Regions from separate parts of the Homo sapiens genome. Here region 2 is linked to region 1. Evidence: promoter capture Hi-C in 16 types of primary human blood cells and fetal thymus (Javierre and others, 2016). All regions are on one chromosome and are shown on one strand. The core of a region is centred on a gene start or on the middle of the fragment in contact, and the rest is flanking DNA. Distances in the headings are between cores, read along the strand shown. Region 1 holds the start of LIMK2 (LIM domain kinase 2). Region 2 overlaps OSBP2 (oxysterol binding protein 2).

Region 1 (7,266 bases), core at 1,418-3,917:
AATTAGCTGGGCGTGGTAGCACTTGCCTGTAGTCCCAGCTACTCAGGAAGCTGAGGCAGAAGATTCACTTGAACCTGGGAGGTGGAGGGTACAGTGAGTCTGGATCGCGCCACTGTACTCCAGCATGGGCAACAGAGCAAGACTCTTCCTCCCCACCCCCTACAAAAAAATCAAAAAACCATATTGACCTCCCAGCTCCAAGGCTCAAAGGCACTACATGCCTTCCTACCCTAGGGCCTTTTTATGCTGTTTCCTCTGCCTGGAATGCTCTGTGAGCTTTTTTTGCCAGGCTAACTTTTACTTATCTCCAGGGGTCAGCATAAACTTGCATTTTTAAGAAAAGTATTCCCTTCAAAAAAAAAAAAAGTAGAGGATGGGCATGGTGGTTCATGCCTGTAATCCCAGCACTTTGGGAGGTTGAGACAGGAGGATGGCTTGAAACCACCGTGGGCAACATAGTGAGACCCTGTCTCTACCAAAACAGAAAAAAAAGTAGAGAAAACCCTCACCCCTGGTGCACTCTTACAGCACTTATCTCAATTGTTTACCTTAACTATTATAGCATTTATTGCAATTGTTACAATTATTTATTGTCCATCTCTAGGATTATTAAGCACCACAAAGCCAAGAACTATGTCACCACTGTACTCAGCATTTGGCTAAGTATATGACACAGAAGAATCCAACAAATATTCTTTGAATGAAAGAAAGAATGCATAAACTAATGCATCTAGAGGCTTTATGCCTCTAGACTATTGTACTGTGAAACCTTTCACAATTTTCTAAGAAACAGGGTTCAAGACAGGCAACCTATATTACACAGCTGTTAGAAAAAGTTACTGGAAATCGGCCGGGTGCGGTGGCTCACGCCTGTAATCCCAGCACTTTGGGAGGCCGAAGCGGGCGGATCACAAGGTCAGGAGTTCAAGACCAGCCTGGCCAATATGGTGAAACCCCATCTCTACTAAATATACCAAAAAAATTAGCCGGGCGTGGTGGCGGGCCCCTGTTGTCCCAGCTACTCGGGAGGCTGAGGTAGGAGAATCGCTTGAACCCGGGAGGCAGAGGTTGCAATGAGCCAAGATTGTGCCACTGCACCCCAGCCTGGGCGACAGAGCAAGACTCCATCTAAGAAAAAAAAAAAAAAGTTACTGGAAATCATTCGAGTTGAAGGACTCTGTAAGCTTAAAAAAAATCTTTTTTAAGAGACAAGGTTTTGTTTTTAAGAGATGAAGTCTCGCTATATTGCCCAAGCTGGTCTCAAACTCCTGGACTCAAGCGATCCTCCTGCCCTGCCCTCCCAAAGTGCTGGGATTACAGGCATGAGCCACCACGCCCAGCCTAAAAAAATTTGTTTTAGGCATTTCCACCCCTAGCTCTCTCCAGAAGTCTGTTATCACCAGTGAAGAGAAAATCCCATGCTCCCTTGCTGAGGAAGTGACCCACTGGTAGCCCAGTCCTTGCATTCAAGATGAAGGAAGTGACTGTCCACAGACGGAAAGCCAGGAAGCAGGGGGCAGATAGCCAGCCCCCCTCCACCTCAATACCCTCTTGCCGCCTCTCCAAAGCTTCTGGACGCTGACCCTGGTGGACCCAGAGGTGGGCCACCCACACAGGTGGCTGGGAAACATAGGAGACAGAAGGTTCCTACTGCTGGGGGAAAAGATGGGGAAGGCAGGAAGCTGCAGGGTGGTGTGTGAGGTGGCGGGGAGGTGACTGCAGGTGCAACTAACCCAACTCTGAAGCTACCCTTCACCCTTAGACAACTCTTCCTTCCAGGAGGTGTTTGGCCGAATCCCTCTAGTCTTTAGTCTAGAGAGGCCAAGGGAGCTTCCACAGGAGGACTCAGAACCCCAGGTGGCCTACTTTCGCCACCTGTAGCAGAGATCTTTGGGCCCCAAAAAGAATGGTCCGATCTCTCCTTACCCTTAGTCCTGTCCTAAACCTCAAGGGGCTCCATACTCCCTTATTTTCTGCAAAGAGCTCCCAGCCCCGGGGGACTCCCAGACACCAAGATGCCCGCGAGAAGCCTTGGGTCTTGGCAGGGAAGTCACATCCTCCATTTCCCTCAGAAAACCCAGAACCCGGGGTAACTCTCCTAATTGTCCTGAACCCTAGAGGATCCTGTACTCCTCAAATTCCACAGAGCTTCCACTATAAGAGAACCCCATGCTTTTCAACTTCCTTAAAAAGGGTTAATTTGGGGGTCTGCGGCCGCCAGGTCCCTCCAAAAAGCTGGATTCCTGGCAGACCCAGAATCTCTTCCTCCCCGGGACCTCAACTCGCGGGAAGCCTCCCAACCCGCCTGCCCCTCGGAGCCCTCTGTCTCCAGGATGCCCTGCCTCCCCATTCCCGGAGTCCCACCCTCCAAATGCCTGGGGAGCGCTGTGCCCACCCCGCCTCCCAGCTTTTCTGAGGAGCTCGGACCCACGAGGACCCAACCAGCCCGAAACCCCCGAGAGACAGCCGGTTTCCCTCAGGCGCCATGGAACCGGACTTCGGAGATAACAGCGGGACAGGGCGGAGCAGCCCTTCCTTACCCGCCAGCGCGGACATGGTCCCGGGAGCGCGGAAATGGGGAGGAGGAGGCGGGGGACACAGCAGCTCCCCTCAGTTCCCTACAACTCCCCTCAGCTCCTGCCGCCGCCGCCTCAGGCGCGGGAAGACCACAGCCCCAGGCGCGAACGGGATGCACCGCCTACGGCGCCCTGGGAGGACCAAACCACACCTGGCACAGGGGACTGCCCGCCGACGCCCCGCCCCGCCGCTCTCAGGCCTCGCTCCCGAGACGCGGCCCCGCCCCCTGGCTCTGGCTCGGGCTCTGCAGCGGCCCTGGCGCCCCCTAGTGCGAGCGGCGTCCCCTCGAGGTGCTCCCGCCGGTAAGGTTGATTCTGCGGGGGCCGGAAGTCTCAACACGGATGACAGTCCGCACCCATCTAGTCGCCCTCATTTACAGATAGGGAAAGTTAAGGATCAGAGGCTAAGTTCGACTACATTGAAATGGCTTCGCTCATTAGGAGGAGAGCCGGGATGGGAGCCCAGGCCTGCTAACTGCCAGTTCAGAGCTCTTTCCAGTAGTGTTTGGAATCAGGAATATTACAATGGAGGAGCCAGGTCTATCCCACAAACAGCTTTGAGGATGGACTTTTCTTAGAAGCTTCTAGCTCAGAGAAACCACTTCTCTGCGCCACTATGAGTAAGCTGACAGTAAATAATCTCTAAGTCAAAGACAGTTGGAGGCGACCAACCAGCATTCCAGGAGCAGATCCTCAGCCAGGCCAATTAGGTTTAGCGCAGGACGCTGGAGCTTGTGCGCCGCATTGGAAGACGAGCACTCCCCTGCAGGAACATGGGCCTACCATTCCCAGGTCTTCCAACCTTTCAAAACATGCCAAAAATCCAGATATTTAGGTGAAATTTGCCACTTTTAAAAAATGTTGATAGCATCAAAAAGTTCTTAAAATGCCATGTAGACCAAATGAAACACACCTGGCCACTAGATTTGCCCTGTGGGCTGCCAGTTTACAATCTTCTATGAGGAGGAGGGATTACAGGACTAAGAGTTAGGACAGCTGACTGGGTTATGGCAGCTGCTAGCTGGCTGAGTAGCTTTGAGAACCACTTCCGCTCATTAGGTTTGGAAGGAGATTGGGGTCCTCTGTGTGATTAAGATATTAATACATCATCAGCCAGGCCAGCTGGTCCCTGATGACCCACCCTCCCATCAGATTCTCTCACGCTGGGTCTTTCACAATTGTCATTTCCTTACATCAGATTTAGATCACAGGAAACATGTCCAAATGACCAGAAAGAGGATGGAGCCCAGGGAAATGGATTCTGTCCCCTCCACCCCCACCCCTGACCAAAGACAAAGTTCAACCCAGCTGCCTCTGGTCCCAGCAGTTGGGTAAGCAAAGGCAAAGGCAAAGACAAAGGCGAGCACAATTCTCTTCCTTCCTGCTCTAATTCAAACCGGATGCCGGTCAGATTTTTCTCTTCTGGGTGTGGCAGGTGGCTCACGATGTCCTGAGTGTGCACAAAGTGCTGGGGAGGAGGGCTCTGTCCCATTTCCGTTAATTCCTGGGAACTCTTTTCAGTACTCAGTTTTGTAGTTTCTGAGGAAATCATTATAGTAAACACAAGATTGTGTATTGAATTAAAGTGACAGGAATCCAGAGACTCTCCTGACAAGCTGCCTCATGGCTAGCAAACAGGGGACAGGGACTTTCCCCATCCTTCCTACAGAAAGATGTAACACTGTATTTTCCCAGGCAACAAAGCACTGGCATCCTGGGAACCAAAACCTCCTGGGTGTCTTCCCTCTCCCTCCGTTCCACACCAAGGCACCCAGGTCTATCTCTTCTCCCTCCTCATTCTCTCTCACATTCCACTTCCTCCTACCTCCAGCCTCATGGTCTTCACCAGCAGGGAGCTGGGGAATAGCCAAGTCCCCCAAGTTCCTCCCAGGGAAGTTCAGGCGACTCTGAGAAACACAAGTTGAAAATGTAATGGAAGGGAATAGCTTTCTATAGAAATGCTATAGCCAAGAGATATATTTTTAATATGGACCCAAAGAACATTCCAGAAATCACTTGTGAACTCAAGGGGGACTTCTGGAGGGTAGAGAAAGCCTGGGCAGGGAGTAGACCAACTGAGTTTCAATAGCACCCAGGTTACCTGTCCACAGTTTGTTTCACTGGCCATAGCTTGGTCAGTCCCTAGGGCCAGATCCTGCCAGCCGCCTCACAGTCAACTCTCTGAGCCTAGGATCCTGAAACCTGGACCTTGAAAAACAACTCAAGGTTCTGCCCTCTTGAAGGTACTGGTCCACTGGTACCCAACCAGACTTGCCCAGTGTCACTTCCACTTGCTTCAAACTGAGCCAGTCTCTGCCCTCCCTGAATCATCCTACCCAAAACTGACTGTGTTAATCTTCCAAAAGTATGTTTCTGGACCTGTCATCTCTCTGTTCAAAACCCTTCAACAGCACCCCACTGCCTACAAAATAAAAGCCAAACCAGTCCTCATGAGCTGACTACATCTCACCCTGCGGACTTGTCTCCCTATTCCCTTCACTCCAGGACTCTGCTTTTTCCTGAGCACATCCTGCCTTGCGCCACCTGCCATTCCTACAACAACCAGCTCTCCAGGTTCTCTGTAATTTTGTGCCCCACTCTGCCCAGAGTGCAGTCTTGTTTCTCAACTCTAAATGATATAGTGGCATCTGTAACATCACAAAGTAGGACTACCAGACATTAAGTGCCTCCAGGTAAGACGCACCAAGTATATACTATCACCTATGACGTAGTCTTACAAAACAAAAATAATAAGCTTGAATCTGGTCAAGCTTCTAGATCTAACAACCAACTTACAGGAAATACATGGAGAAGAGGAGCTTAATAACATTTCCATGATGCAAATAGCAAAAATGATGCTGTGGGAAATGCAACAGGACAAATAACCTAGTTTCTTTAACAGATAAACTGCAGAGTAGAAAAAATTTCATAGACAGGCCAGGCAAGGTGGCTCACCCCTGTAATCCTAGCACTTTGGGAGGCTGAGGCGGGTGGATCATGAGGTCAGGAGCTTGAGACCATCCTGGCTGACATGGTGAAACCCCGTCTGTACTAAAAATACAAAAAAAATTAGCCGGGCGTGGTGGCGGGCACCTGTAGTCTCAGCTACTTGGGAGGCTGAGGCAGGAGAATTGTGTGAACCCAGGAGGTGGAGCTTGCAGTTAGCCGAGATCCCGCCACTGCACTTCAGCCTGGGCAACAGAGCGAGACTCTGTCACACAAACACACACACAAAAAAACAAAAAATTAGCCAGGCATGATGGCGGGCGCCTGTAGTCCCAGCTACCAAGGAGGCTGAGGCATGAGAATCACTTGAACCCGGGAGACGGGGGCTGTAGTGAGCTGGGATCGCATCACTGCACTCCAGTCTGGGCGGCAAGTGAAACTCTGTCTCAAAAAAAAAAAAAAAAAAAATTCAGAGACAAATAATAGCAATGTATGAAACTGATTTGGATCTCAATTGAAACTACACAAGTTATGAGACAACTAGGGAAATCTGAACAATGTGATTGGATATGATGATTTTAAGAAATTTTTTAAAGGTATTTTGCTTTTTTTTTTTTTTTGAGATGGAGTCTTGCTCTGTCGCCCCGACTGGAGTGCACTGGTGCGATCTCGGCTCACTGCAACCTCTGCCTCCCGGGTTCAAGCGATTCTCCTGCCTCAGTCTCCCGAGTTGCTGAGACTACAGGCGCCTACCGCTACGCCTGGCTAATTTTTTGTATTTTAGTAGAGACGGGGTTTCACTATGTTGCCCAGGTTGGTCTCAAACTCCTGAGCTCTGGCAATCCGCCCGCCTCACCCTCCCAAAGTGCTAGGATCACAGGTGTGTGCCATCGTGCCCGGCATATTTTGCTTGTTTTTAAAATACTTGAGATGCATATCGAAATACTTAATAAATGACATGACTGGGGTTTGTTTCCGAATAGTTCAGACAGTGGGAGAGGAACAGCGTGCGGGAGGTATAGATGCAACAAGACTGATCTGAGTTGATAGTTACTGGAGTTGGGTTATGGCTACATGGAGGCTTTATTGTCCTGTTCTACTACTGTTTTTTTTTTTTTTTCCCCATCGAAAACAAAAACCTAAGGCCGGGCATGGTGGCTTAAACCTGTAATTCCAACACTTTGGGAGGCTGAGGTGGGAGAACCTACTGAGACCGGGAGTTCCAGGCTGCAGTAAGCTGTGATCACACCACTGCACTCTAGCCAGGGCACCCGAGTAAGACCCTGTTTCTAAAAGGGTCTGTTGCCCTGGCTGGAATGCACTAGCATGATCACAACTCACTGCAGCCTTGACCTCCCAGGCTCAGGTGATCTTCCCACCTCAGCCTCCCTCCCGGGTAGCTGGGACCACAAGCATGCACCACTGTGCCTGGCTAATATTTTTTATTTTTGTAGAGATGGAGTCTCCCTGTGTTGCCCAGGCTGGTCTCAAACTCTTGGCCTCAAGCGATCCTCCCACCTCAGCCTCACAAAGTGCTGGGGTTTGTAGGTGTAAGCCACCATGCCTGGCCTAAAATTAAAATCTTTCAAAAAAAAAAAAAAAACCTGGTCTTTTCTCATTGGGCTTATGAGCTCCTGAAGTTCCCTCACCTTTGCATTCCCCACTGTATCTTGGTACTATTCAATTTGATAACTGTTAGATCAAAATCTAAGAGGAAGAAAAAAAGCTCTTTTCAGAGGAATTA
Region 2 (7,266 bases), core at 1,970-4,469, 450 kb after region 1:
CTGCCTCAGCCTCCCGAGTAGCTGGGACTACAGGCGCCCGCCACCACGCCCGGCTAATTTTTTGTATTTTCAGTGGAGACAGGGTTACACCGTGTTAGCCAGGATGTCTCGATCTCCTGACCTCGTGGTCCACCCGCCTTGGCCTCCCAAAGTGCTGAGATTACAGGCGTGAGCCACCGCGCCCGGCCCAAAATTGCATTTTATTTTTATTTTATTTTTTATTTTTTATTTTTTGAGATGGAGTCTCACTCTGTCACCCAGGCTGGAGTGCAGTAGTGTAATCTCGGTTCACTGAAACCTCTGCTTCCCAGGTTCAAATGATTCTCTCCTGACTCAGCCTCCAAATAGCTGAGACTACAGTTGCACACCACTATGCCTGGCTAATATTTCTATTTTGGGTAGAGATGGAGTTTCGCCATATCGCCCAGGCTGGTCTCGAACTCCTGGGCTCAAGTGATCCACCCGCCTCGGCCTCCCAAACTGCTGGGAGTATTATAGTTGTATGGTTTACATTTTGAGTTAAATTTTATATAAATAAGAAGTATAAATCAAGATTCATTTTATTGCATATGGATGTCCAATTGTTCCAACACTACTTGTTGAAAAGACTAACCTTTCTCAATTAAATTGTTTCTGCACCTCTGTCAAAAGCCATCTGACCATATTTGTCTGGGCCCATTTCTGGACTCTCCATTCTGTTCCATTAATGTATATGTCTATCTCATTAATCTATATAGTGTTTGCCAACATCACACTGTCTTGTTTCTTTATGATAAGTCTTAAAATTGAGTAATTACTCCACCTTTATTCTTCTTTTTCAAAGTTGCTTTAGCTAGTCTAATTTCTTTATCTTTTCATATAAATGTATAATAAGTTTGTCTATGCTGAGAAAATGTCCTGCTGGGATTTTTTTTGGAATTGCATTCAAGCTACTGATCAGTCAAGGGAAAACTGACGTCTTTACTCTCTTGAATCTTCTGATCCATGAGCATTGTATGTCTCTCCATTTATTTTGGTCTTCTATTTCATCAGTATTTAACACTATTTACATATAGATACTATATTTGTTTTGTTATAATTATATCTAAGTATTTCATGGGGTCATTGTAAGTGATTTTTAAAAATTTTTTGTTACCAATTGTTCATTGCTAATACACAGAAATATGACTGGCCTTTATGTACTGACCTTGTATTCTGTGACCTTGTTAAACTCACTCTAAAAATATTTTTGTAGATTTCCTGGGATTTTTCTACACAGCCATCATGTCGCTTGCAAATAGGGATAGCTCTGTTTCTTTCTTCCCAATCTGAGTGCCTTTGACTTCTTTTTTCTTGCATTATAATACTGGCTAGTATTAGGATGAATATGAGGGGTGAGCATGGACATCCTTGACTTTACTGATCCTAGGCGGAAAGTAAAGCATTCAGTCTTCTATCACTACATATGATGTCAGTTTCTTGAAGATGCCCTTAATCAGGTGGAGGAGTCTCCTAGTTTGCTGAGAGTTTTTACCATGAATAATGTTAAATTTTGTCAAATGCCTTTTTCTGTATCAATTGATATTATAATGTAGTTTTTCTTAGATTGTTAATATTATGATTCCATTTATATTGATTTTCTTTTTTTTTTCTTTTTTTGAGACAGAGTCTTGCTCTGTTGCCCAGGCTGGGGTGCAGTGGTGCGATCTCCACTCACTGCAACCTCCGCCCTGCCAGGGTTCAAGCGATTCTCCTGACTCAGCCTCCTAAGTAGCTGAGACTACAGGTGTGCACCACCATGCCTGGCTAATTTTTGTATTTTCAGTAGAGACAGGGTTTCACCATGTTGGCCAAGCTGCTCTTGAACTCCTGACTTCAAGTGATCTGCCTGCATTGGCCTTCCAAAGTGCTGGGATTACAGGTGTGAGCCACTGCCCCCAGCCCCATTTATTGATTTTCAAACATGGAACCTATCTTGCACCTATCTTGCACTCATCTTGCACTCCTAGCATGAAATCCACTTGATCATGGTGTAATATTCTATTGTATTGCTGGTTTCAAATTGTTAATATTTTGTTGAAGATGTTTTCATCTATGCTCATGAGAAATATTGGTCCGAAGTTTTCTTTTCTTACACTATCTTTGTTCAGTTTGGTATCAGGGTATGCTGTCCTTATAAATGAGTTAGAAATTACTCACTCCTGTAATCCTAGCACTTTGGGAGGCCAAGGCGAGCAGATCACTTGAGGTCAGGAGTTTGAGACCAGCCTGGGCAACAGTGCAAGACTCTGTCTCAAAAAAAAAAAAAAAGCCGGGTGCAGTGGCTCACGCCTGTAATCCCAGCACTTTGGGAGACCAAGGCAGGCGGATCACCTGATGTCAGTAGTTCAGGATGACCCTGGCCAACATGGTGAAACCCTGTCTCTACTAAAAATACAAAAAAAAAAATTAGCTGGGCGTGGTGGCACATGCCTGTAATCCCAGCTACTAAGGAGGCTGAGGGAGGAGAACTGCTTGAACCTGGGAGGCAGAGGTTGCAGTGAGCCAAGACTGCACCACTGCACACTCCAGCCTGGGCAACAGAGCGAGACACTGTCTCAAAAAAAAAAGAAAAGAAAAATTAAAAAAGAAAAGAAATTACTCATTCCTCTTCTGTTTTCTGGAAGAGATTGTGTGGAAATAGTGTTATTCTTTTTTCAAATATTTGATAAAATTTACCTGTGAAATCATGTAGGCCTGAAGACTTCTTTTTTGAAGTGTTTTAAACTATGAATGCAACTTCTTTAATAGTTATAGGATTATTCAGTTTATGGATTTGATCTTGGGCAAGTGTTAGAATTTGATTTTTGAAGAATTGGTTCATTTCATCCAAGTTGTCAAATTTGTCAGCAGAGTTGTCTGTAGCATTCCTTTTATGTATTATGTATCTATTTTATGTTTTTGTAGTATTGTCCTTTTATGTTTGTTAGTGCTATTAATTGTTTATTTCATTCCTGATGTTGGTAATTTGATATTTTCATTTTAGCAGTCTATCAAATAAGTTGGGTTAAGGCCACAGGTAGTGACCAGCCGTCTCTGGGTGGTGGTTTCACTGTTTGTTCCATTTTCAAAGCCTTTGCAGTACTATTTGTTTTTGTTTTTGAGACAGAGTCTTGCTCTGGAGTGCAGTGGTGCAATCTCGGCTCACTGCAAGCTCTGCCTCCCAGGCTCAAGCGATTCTCCTGCCTCAGCCTCCCGAGTAGCTGGGATTACAGGTGTGCACCACCACGCCTGGCTAATTTTTGTATTTTTAGTAGAGACGGGGTTTCACCGTGTTGGCCAGGCTGGTCTCGAACTCCTGGCCTCAAGTGATCCACCTGTCTCGGCTTCCCAAAGTGCCAGGTTACACTGCGCCCGGCCCTTTGCAGTACTAGTTGGATCTGTTCCACATGTGTGCCAGCCAGTGGCCACAGGGACGTGGGTATTCATGCAGCTTTAAGTTCAGTTCTCAAAATCTTTAGTATGCTGTTTAGGATCAGATCCATCCATGTGCGGCTTGAACGTGAAGCCAGGAGTTCATGAAAACAACGTTATGGGGTCACTTTCCCAAGGTGTTCTCTTTCTGTGATTTCCTGTTTTTTTCTGGTTCTCTTGGGCTCTGTTTCAGTCCTCTGGCTGCCCACTTCCCACCACCACACCTATATCGGGGGCTAAGTGGTAGGAAGAGTGAGAGAAAAATGGAACAGGGGTTCCCTCACTTCTTGGGCCCAGAGCTCTTCCTACTGGTGTGCATGGATTCCTCTGAGTTTTTGGTACCTGCAGGCCTCTCATCGCCACTGCTATCACTGACAGGGGACCCTTTCCTCCTTGAGCCTGAACTAGAGGGCTTCTCCAGGAGTTTTCTCTGTCTGCTCACTTCTGGGTCTCCCCTGAGTCCACTCTAGAAGATACTGGAGGGAAAAAATTGTAACCTCACCACCTGTTTGGTGTTACCTCAGATTCTGGTCTTCTCTAGTCTGCTTGTGGCTACTTAATTTTCAGGGTGCTCAAATAGCTGCTCTGTGCATTCTGTCCACATTTTATTTTATTTTATTTTTGAGACAGAGTCTCGCTCTGTCACCCAGGCTGGAATGCAGTGGTGCCATCTCGGCTCACTGCAACCTCTTCCTCCCGGGATCAAGTGATTATCACACCTCAGCCTCCCCAGTAGCTGGACTACAAGCGTGCGCCACCACACCCGGCTAATTTTTGTATTTTTAGTAGAGATGGGGTTTCACCATGTTGGCCAGGCCGGTCTCGAACTCCTGGCCTCAAGTGATCGGCCTGCCTCAGGCTTCCAAAGTGCACGGATTACAGGCATGAGCCACTGTGCCTGGCCCTGTCCATGTTTCATAGCTGCAGAGTGAAACCTTCTCACTTAATCCTACCTGGAACTGGAACTGAGCAGAATTGGATTTTAAAAGACTCACTCTTGCTGTCCAGACTCTGGGAGGTCAGATAGTGAAACTGGGTTGGAGGCCAGGCAGATGGAGGGCAGTGGGCAGATGTGAAAGTGCTCAGGTCTGGCACTGACAGGATCTGCTGACAAGCTGCACATGAGGGATCAGGGAGGGCAGGACTCAAGGTGACACCCAGGTTCACTTCTTAGTCATCTGCCAGGTCTGGAAAGTGACCTGAGACCTTGGCTAGTACAGTTTCAAAGTAGTGAGTGGTGGGTCATATGCAGTGGGAAGAGGCCAGGAGAGAGGTTGAGGCTACAGGAGTGACAAAACAGCAATAAGGCTGGGTGCAGTGGCTCATGTCTGTAATCCCAGCACTTTGGGAGGCCGAGGCGGGCAGACCACTTGAGGTCAGGAGTTTGAGACCAGCCTGGCCAACATGGTGGAACCCTGTCTCTACCGAAAATACAAAAATTAGCCAGGTATGGTGGCACCCACCTGTAGACCCAGCTACTCGGGAGACTGAGACAGGAGAATCACTTGAACCCGGGAGGCGGAGGTTGCAGTGAGCCGAGATCATGCCATTGTACTCCAGCTTGGGCGACAGAGACTCTGTCTCAAAAAAAAAAGAAAAGAAAAGGAAAAAGAAAACAGCGATAAAACCAAGTCCCCCAGCAAGAGGGAGAAAATCACCCTTTGAAGCTGGCACTGCTTCAAAGGGGAGAAATGTCTCCACTGGAATCATTTGGGATTCATATGGCAGGGGGGACGCAGGGAGCGTGTAATGGCAGAGAGCTGAGGGGCTCAGCTGTGGATCTGGTTTTGTTCTATGCATGAGGAAGCAAGATCTTTTGCAGTGTGGCAGGAGGCAGCAGTGAAAATATACAGAGTAGCAAGGACGTCCCTGGGAGATGGGAGAGAAAGGTGGTGAGGGACTCACACAAAGGGGACAGGTACTGATCAAGGCCAGCAGATATTCTGGGTTTGAGGAGTGTGGTCTGCCTGGCTGGGAGGTGTCAACGCACAGCAGATACCCTGCGTTTGAGGAGTGTGGTCTGCATGGTTGGAAGGGGTCACCACACAGCAGATACCCTGGGTTTGAGGAGTGTTGTCTGCATGGCTGGGAGGGTCACTGCAGAACGTGGCTGCATAGCATGTGTACGTGTGCTCAGCAAAGGGCCCTATCACCCCTGCCTGAAGGTAGAAGGTGCAGAACTGACAGGTCATCACCCAAAGACTGACAATGTTACTTCCGTCAGCTGAGTGGCCACCACACTCCAGTGACTGCTGGGCAGTTTGTAGCATGATTTGATTTATCCCTCTTGACAACTCTAAGAGGTTTTTTTTGTTTGTTTGTTTTGTTTTTTTAATGGAGTCTCGCTCTGTCGTCCAAGCTGGAGTGCAGCGGCATGATCTTTGCTCACCGCAAACTCCACCTCCCGGGTTCGAACGATTCTTCTGCCTCAGCCTCCTGAGTAGCTGTGACTACAGGCGTGCGCCACCATGCCCAGCTAATTTTTGTATTTTTACTAGAGACGGGGTTTCACCGTATTGGTCAGGCTGGTCTGGAACTCCTGACCTCGTGATCCGCCCACCTCAGCCTCCCAAAGTCAAAGTGCTGGGGTTACAGGCGTGAGACACCATGCCTGGCCCCTAAAAGGTCTTTATCATTACATACACTTTGTGGGTGAAGAGACAGAGGCAGAGGGACCCACCTTATAAGTGACACAGTCTGGATTTGGGCCCAACCTGTCTAGTGCCTGGGCTGCCCCATGGTTAGACAGAGGACAAACAGGTGTGAAGGAAGCCAGACAACCAGGAGAGAGAGGAAGAACTCACCCCAGCAGGGATGAACCACAGGGCGAGGCCAAGTGAGAAAGGAAAAGAAAAACGCAACTGCCACCTGGAGGAGTCAGATCTGGAAGGGCACTGGAAGGGTAACTGCTGTGGTGGCCAGAACAGGGCTTCTGATTTTAAGATTACTGAGCCAGAGCCCACAGAGTCTGGAGGTGACCATGTGGGGGCAGAGGTGGACAGGGCCTAGTGGGGTCAGGCTGCGTGGGGACTGGTGCTCCACGTTAAGGCACAGCTGAAGATGCAAGAGCATGCCGACCAGGGAACGAGGCCCAGGGGTTGAGGACAAGCTCCATGGCCAAGGGCCCTGGTGGACCTGAGGGCTGAGACGGGTGGGGTGCAATCCTAGCAGAGGCACCAAGACACCAGGATTTGGAAGAATGAGTGGCACAGGGAGGGGAACGCTGAAGAGGGGCACAATCGACCAGTCCCTGGGCCAGGTTTGCCCCTCTTGGAGGGTGGGGGCTGCGTAGGTGAAAGTTCCTTCTCCTGGTTGGACTCTTCTCCCCAGAGGTCTCACATTCTGATGACCCTGTGGGGACCTTATAAAGACAGGTGAGCAAGCCAGCCCTGGTTGACTCAACATGCCCTCAGAAGGGCCTCAATCCAGCCACCAGATGGCAGCTGGAAATAAGACAAAGCTTCCCGAAGTCAAAAGAGGCCTACACTTCGGAAGCTGCTTAAACAACCAATCACACGGTCCTGGGGTTGCCTGATTCCTCATCAGAACAGCAGAAAACTCCATGCCCTTCCTCATATGAATTTTTCTAATAAAGGATAAGAAAGGAATGAGAATCTGATAATAAGGACTCTCTTGAAAGGCTGCTTGGTCCTGTGGTGAGCTCTGGTCTCTCTGGTGATATGGGGCCCTGTACATCTCCAGCCCAGCAGGGAAGTCTCCTGATCTGTGGCCCAGGACATCATCTGAGGTCCCAGCCATCAGCTGCCCAGAGCTCTGCACCCACTCTGCTCTAAGCGCCCCTGTGGGTCTGGCATGCCCAGTGGGTGTAAAGCA

The links. The method cuts DNA at HindIII sites, captures the fragments that hold promoters and counts their contacts. A CHiCAGO score of 5 or more calls a contact.
Region 2: a fragment that was not itself captured here is called in contact with the fragment with the promoter of LIMK2 in region 1 in 1 of 17 cell types (naive CD4 T cells); the score reaches 5.3 in naive CD4 T cells.

What each region holds. Positions count from the first base shown.
Region 1 is chr22:31,207,699-31,214,964 of GRCh38, reverse strand. It overlaps LIMK2 (LIM domain kinase 2), which reads right to left and starts at 2,667. Exons shown (of 16, transcript NM_005569.4): 1 at 2,541-2,667. The coding sequence starts at 2,556. RefSeq lists enhancers at 1,059-1,984, 2,947-3,126 and a silencer at 2,567-2,966. The HindIII fragment of the contact is 1,589 bases long and covers 1,571-3,159 here.
Region 2 is chr22:30,755,190-30,762,455 of GRCh38, reverse strand. The region is part of intron 2 of OSBP2 (oxysterol binding protein 2); the gene reads right to left. Among named protein-coding and RNA genes, the nearest start is that of MIR3200, 27 kb to the right of the region's middle. RefSeq lists a silencer at 6,785-6,934. The HindIII fragment of the contact is 7,351 bases long and covers 1-6,894 here.